2 separate regions of the Homo sapiens genome follow, and region 1 is linked to region 2. The links are contacts of gene promoters, found by promoter capture Hi-C in human tissues and cell types (Jung and others, 2019). All regions are on one chromosome and are shown on one strand. Each heading gives the region's core, a stretch centred on a gene start or on the middle of the fragment in contact. The rest is flanking DNA. Distances are from core to core; before and after follow the strand shown.

The links. The method cuts DNA at HindIII sites, captures the fragments that hold promoters and counts their contacts. A contact is called where the count stands out against the background at its distance.
Region 1: a contact is called between a fragment that was not itself captured here and the fragment with the promoter of BRD4 in region 2, in 1 of the 25 tissues and cell types used here (dorsolateral prefrontal cortex).

The regions. Positions count from the first base shown.
Region 1 is chr19:16,124,238-16,126,937 of GRCh38, reverse strand. It overlaps RAB8A (RAB8A, member RAS oncogene family), which reads right to left. Exons shown (of 8, transcript NM_005370.5): 4 at 1,391-1,468. It overlaps HSH2D-AS1 (HSH2D and RAB8A antisense RNA 1), which reads left to right. Exons shown (of 2, transcript NR_199156.1): 2 at 1-2,700. Among named protein-coding and RNA genes, the nearest start is that of RAB8A, 14 kb to the right of the region's middle. The HindIII fragment of the contact is 7,709 bases long and covers 1-2,700 here.
Region 2 is chr19:15,331,261-15,333,960 of GRCh38, reverse strand. BRD4 (bromodomain containing 4) reads left to right here and starts at 1,422. Exons shown (of 20, transcript NM_001379291.1): 1 at 1,422-1,671. LOC124904643 (a long non-coding RNA gene) reads right to left here and starts at 1,348. Exons shown (of 4, transcript XR_007067146.1): 1 at 1,313-1,348. RefSeq lists an enhancer at 540-1,156 and silencers at 1,113-1,182, 1,323-1,422, 1,653-1,882, 2,083-2,182, 2,213-2,362 and 1 more. The HindIII fragment of the contact is 25,776 bases long and covers 1-2,700 here.

The sequences.
Region 1 (2,700 bases), core at 49-2,548, 790 kb before region 2:
CTCACTGCAACCTCTGCCTTCAGGTTCAAGCGATCCTCAACCTCCCGAATAGCTGAGATTACAGGCATCTGCCACCATACCAGGCTAATTTTTTGTATTTTTAGTAGAGACAGAGTTTCGCCATGTTGGCTAGGCTGGTCTCAAACTTCTGACCTCAGGTGATCTGCCCGCCTCAGCCTCCCAAACTGCTGGGATTACAGGCATAAGCCACCTCGCCTGGCCCTGACATTTCAACTATTTTTGGGCTCCAGAAACAGGCCGTGCCTGAGGTGGTCGCAACTCGAGGCCGTCACCAGCTGCAGGCACTTCACCACCCTGTCTGATGTTGCCCAAACTCTGCCCTCATACCCAAAGGCAGCTCCTTCGTCAAGTCTCCCTGGGTCCCCATGGAGCGGACCACGCTTCCTGGAGGACGGGGACACTGGAAACTGCTGTCTTCTTCCACCAGCTCAGACTTGGTCTCTGGAACCTACTGCGCCACTCCCTGCCTCACTTCCCATGAACCAGAAGGTGGCTCCTGCCCGCTGGCCAGAAACAGAGACCTTTCACAAAGACCAGGCTCTCCTCCTCTCCACGGATGAAGACAGCTTTCCCAGCTGGGGTGCAGCCCTGCACTGGCAAATTTGGCAGCACAGCCCTCTCAGGGTCACTGGGGAGGTGAGCCCAGTGCAATGACTCACAAATGATGGGGTGGCCTCTCGGCCTGGCCTGGGAGGTCCATGAGTCCTGGGTGGACAGTGATATGCCCTTTTGCTGTGGTTTTATAGATGGGAAAAGTTCTCTGGCTGTGCCTCAGACCTGAAGCCCCACATGGTTAGTTATAGAAAGCTGCAGGTGCCGGCAGCCAGGAAGGCTTTGGGGGTGAGGTCAGCTCTTTGGGGAGCAGAAGATGAAGATGCTGGCTTTGGGAGGGGAGGAGGGGTTGGCCTACTTCTCACTGCTCTATGGTTCAAGGTCTGAACACAGGTCGTTTGTACCAGGTCACACCCTGCTCCGATATAGCTCAAAGTACAACTGACGCCTGCTCACCACACCCTCCAACTACAAGGGTCACACCTGTGCTAGACCCTTCCTTCTCTAGAAAGCACCCAACACTCATGGTGACCACAAGCTTGGATATCCTTTCTCTTATAACCATGACACTGGCCAGATCCAACAGCCTAGCTGGAGGGATGGGCTCCGAGGGGCTCCGGGGTGGGGCCAGGCCAGTGTGTGGTCCCTGGGGCCGGCTGCTTGCATCTCAGTCCCTGCTCCCACCATGTCCCTGACTAGGAGGCTGTGGGCAAGTGGCCTGTATGTGTCTCTGCACCTTGGCCTTCTCATGAGTAAACCAGAGGGCTCTGGGACAAGGACTGAAGCAGGGACAGTGGGAGGAGCCGGAGGGCCTCACCTCCTCAATGTTGCGAATCCAGTTCCGGATGTTGTCGAAGGACTTCTCGTTGGTGATGTCGTAGACCAGCATGATGCCCTGCGCGGGGAGAGAAGACACAGGTGCCTGATCGGCTGCAGGCTCTGGAAGGGAGGCCTCAGCGGCACCAGAGAACAGTGGTGGGGAGCCCAGCACCCACTGCACAGCCAGGCCCATTAGCTGCCGCCCTCCCCACCTCTGTGGAGCCCCGGAAGCCAGCCCCCTCCTCTCCATCCCTGTGGCCCTTCTTTCTGCTGGGTTCTGGCACCAGCCTTGTCCTGCCCCCCGGGCCGCTGAGGTGACCCTTCTGCCTCACAGGCCAGCCCCTGCCACGCACTCGCTGACAAGCCCGGCTGGCTCCCCTCATGGCCCACGGGGTGGTGCAGCCTGACGGTGGGAGCCGGTCCACAGGCCCACTGCCAGCAGCACTCCCCTCACGCTGACCCTCCCCTGCAATCGGCCTCCTCTTCACCCCTTGCTCACCCCACGCTCTGCCTGAGCCACCTACCAGGCACAACTGAGCCCAGGAAGTCCTGACCCGACATCCACACAACTTCCAGTGACCCCACCACAGAGGGAACCGGCTGTGTGAAGATGGAGCCGAGAGTGCCAAGGCCCTTCCAGTTCCCTAACCTAGACGTGAGCAACTGGGAGACGGCTCGTGGGTCCTGGAAGAGCTTCGGGGCAGCCCCGCCTCAGCCTGGGTCCACAGCCTCGCTACTGCTGTGGACAAGCGCAAACATGCCCATGCGATGCAAGGGGAAACTGAGGCACAGAGACGTGACCTTTAAGATTCAAGCACGGGGGGCGGGGGGGGGCTAACTCCAAAAGCACTGATGACACCTATCCTCTCAGCAATATCCCTGGGCCTTTTTCAGCCCCAGAACCCACATGTGGGGGCCACCCTCTGACGGTCTGTGTGGTTCTCGATGTCCTTGTGGAGTGCCCACAGCGGGCCAGCCTGCAGTGCCATCACAAGTCCCCCTTTGTTGCCGGGCATCCTGGGCTCCAAGGCACGTGGCCTGCTCATGGCCAGGCCTGGATTTCTTCCTTCCTCCTCGCTACCTGCTCCCCAGGCCCAGCCCTGCATCTGTGGCACCTGAGGGCACTGATGACTTCTGCTGCTGGCCAAGTTGTCTGGGGCCATCCAAGTTTGCAGAATAAGGACACGGGCCATGTGGTAATGGTGAGACAGATGTGGGTGCAAGAGTGTGGGACAAAAACGACACAGATGGGGCAAGAAAGTCACTGCAACCCCAAATCCTCCTGGGAATTCAGGGACATGAATAATG
Region 2 (2,700 bases), core at 173-2,672:
GGCTAGAGTGCAGTGGCACAATCTCGGCTCACTGCAACCTACGCCTCCCGGGTTCAAGTGATTCTTCTGCCTTAGCCTCCTGAGTAGCTGGCATTACAGGCATGGGATTACAGGCATGCGCCACCACACCCGGCTAATTTTTTTTTTTTTTTTTTGAGACGGAGTCTCGCTCTGTCGCACAGGCTGGAGTGCAGGGGCGCGATCTCCGCTCACAGCAAGCTCCGCCTCCCGGGTTCACGCCATTCTCCTGCCTCAGTCTCTCGAGTAGCTGGGACTACAGGCGCCCACCACCACACCCGGCTAATTTTTTGTATTTTTAGTAGAGACGGGGTTTCACCGTCTTAGCCAGGATGGTCTCGATCTCCTTACCTCGTGATCTGCCCGCCTCCCAAAGTGCTGGGATTACAGGCGTGAGCCACTGCGCCCGGCCCACACGGGGCTAATTTTTGTATTTTTAGTAGAGGCGAGGTTTCACTCTGTTGGCTAGGATGGTCTCCAACCCCTGGCCTCAAGCCAACCTCCTGCCTCTGCCTCCCAAAGTGCTGAGATTACAGGTGTGAGCCACCGAGCCTGGTCTGACTTGGGGTTGAGTCTTAAGGATGGGAAGGAGCTGGGCGCGGTGGCTCACGCCTGTAATACTAGCACTTTGGGAGGTCGAGGCAGGAGGATCGCTTGAGTCCAGGAGACAGAGACCAGCCTGGCCAACATCGTGAGATCCCATCTCTACAAAAAATAGTTAGCTGGGTGTGGTGGTGCACACCTGTAGTCCCAGCTACTTGGGAGGCTGAAGCAGGAGGATCGCTTGAGGCCAGCAGGTTGAGGCTGCAGTGAGCTATGACTGCACTACTGCACTCCAGCCTGGGGGACAGAGCAAGACCATGTCCCTTTTTTTAAAAAGGTGGGTTGGAAGAAGATCAACAGGGGGGCATAAGAGGAGAAAGGTGCTACCTCCCTGCCCAGGGGCAGCCAAGGAGGATCCGCCTCGGCCTTGCTCGCAGCCTCCTCTCACCTCCTTTCCTCCACTTCACCCCAGCCCCGGCGCCCCCATCGCAGCTCTCTCGCCTCAGCCTCCCTACCTGGGGTCCCCCCTTAGGGCTCTCTCCTCCGCCTCCTCCATCAGTCTGTGGGGTCCCTCCTCACCATCCTCCCTCCCTGTGAGGGTCTGTCTTCAGACCTTTCTTAGTATTTTGGATGTCTCTCTCAGCCTTCAGATCTTTTCCCGCAGGCCCAGCCTGCAGTCCGCCCGTTTCCCCCAGCCCGCTCCTTCGCTCTGCGGGGTCTCCTCCCTCAGTCCGCGGTATCCCCCACTCACCTCGCAGCCACTGTCTCTCCAGAGCTCGTTCGCGCTGGGCGCGGGGGCGGGGCGCGCACACCGGGCGGCGGCGGCGCGGGGCCGCGCGCGCAGCGTGCGCGGTGACGTCAGTGCGCTGGCGGCGGCGGCGGCGGCGGCGGCGGCGGCTGGGCTGTTTGTTCTGGTCTCCCGCAGCCGAGGAGCCGAAGCAGTGGCGGCGGCAGCGGCTGCGGCGGCTGCCGGCGGTGCCCGCGGGCGAGCGCGGCCTGTGAGCTCGGCAGAGCGGCGGGCGGGCCCCGGCGCCGCGCAGGCAGCTCGGGGAGGGGGCGGCGGCAGCGGGCGGACGGCCGGCGGGGGCGGCGTGCGGCCTAGCGTCTCAGGTGAGGACTGGTGCCCTTTGGGGCGGCGGACGACACTGGGCGGCTGGCGGAGGCTCGCGGCGCGGTCCGCGTAACCTGCATTGCGTAATGGGGCCGGGGCGCCGCCACCTACGCCATCCGCGCGGCGCGGGGGCGGGGAGGCCGGGGCTACGCGGGCTCGGGCCTGCGGGCCTCCCGCGCCGTTCGTTCCGGGCCGGGGCGGCCTGCGCCGTTGGTGTCGGGGCGGCGGGGTCGCTCGCGGCTGTCCTGCCTTTGGTGCCGTCGGACCCGGGCTTGGGCTGGCCGGCGGGGCGCGGGTGGGGGGCGCGGGCGCCGCGGCGGGGCCGGCGGTCGGGGGCGGGCGGGGGGCGGGCCGAGGCGCCCGGCACTTCCTGCCGCCGCCATTTTGTTAAGTGAGGAGGAGGAGGAGGAGGAGGAAGCGGCCGCCGCGGGGTCCGCGGCGCGCCCGGCCCGGGTAAGTCCCGGCCTGGCGCGGGGGCCGCGAGCGCAGCTGTCCCGGTCCGCGGTCCTCTAGGCGGGCTCGGCCGCGGCGCTCACGTGGGCCGGGGCCGGCGCGCTCTCCTTCTGGCACCCAGGTCGTTTTGCCTGGGCCGGGGCAGCGCGCCCCCACCCCCATCTCTTCACCTTCCCGGCGGTCCCCGGAGTGCTGCGGAGAAAGGGGCAGGTCCCCTGCGGAGGGAGGTGGCTGCGGCTGCACGCCGGTCTGAGGCCAGGCCTCAGGGCGGGAGCGGTGCCCTGGAGGCGAGCTTGGCCCGCTTGACGCACCCACTCTCAGCCTGGCAGCCCCTTGCTGGGCGCTTTGTTTTGCTCGGTCCGTGCTCGCCGGCGTCCTTGCAACGGCCTATTTTATTTGCAGTGTTGTGTGGTGGTGGTGATTGTGGTGATTTGGGGTGGGGATGTGGGGGAGTTGTGATTCAGCGAAATAAAATGATCCCCCTCCTCCCAAACGGAAATAGCATGGCTTCACTCGGCTGAGATGCCCCCAAGGCTTGGGTTTGCTTGAAGATGGGAAACCCCACTCTGTTGTAG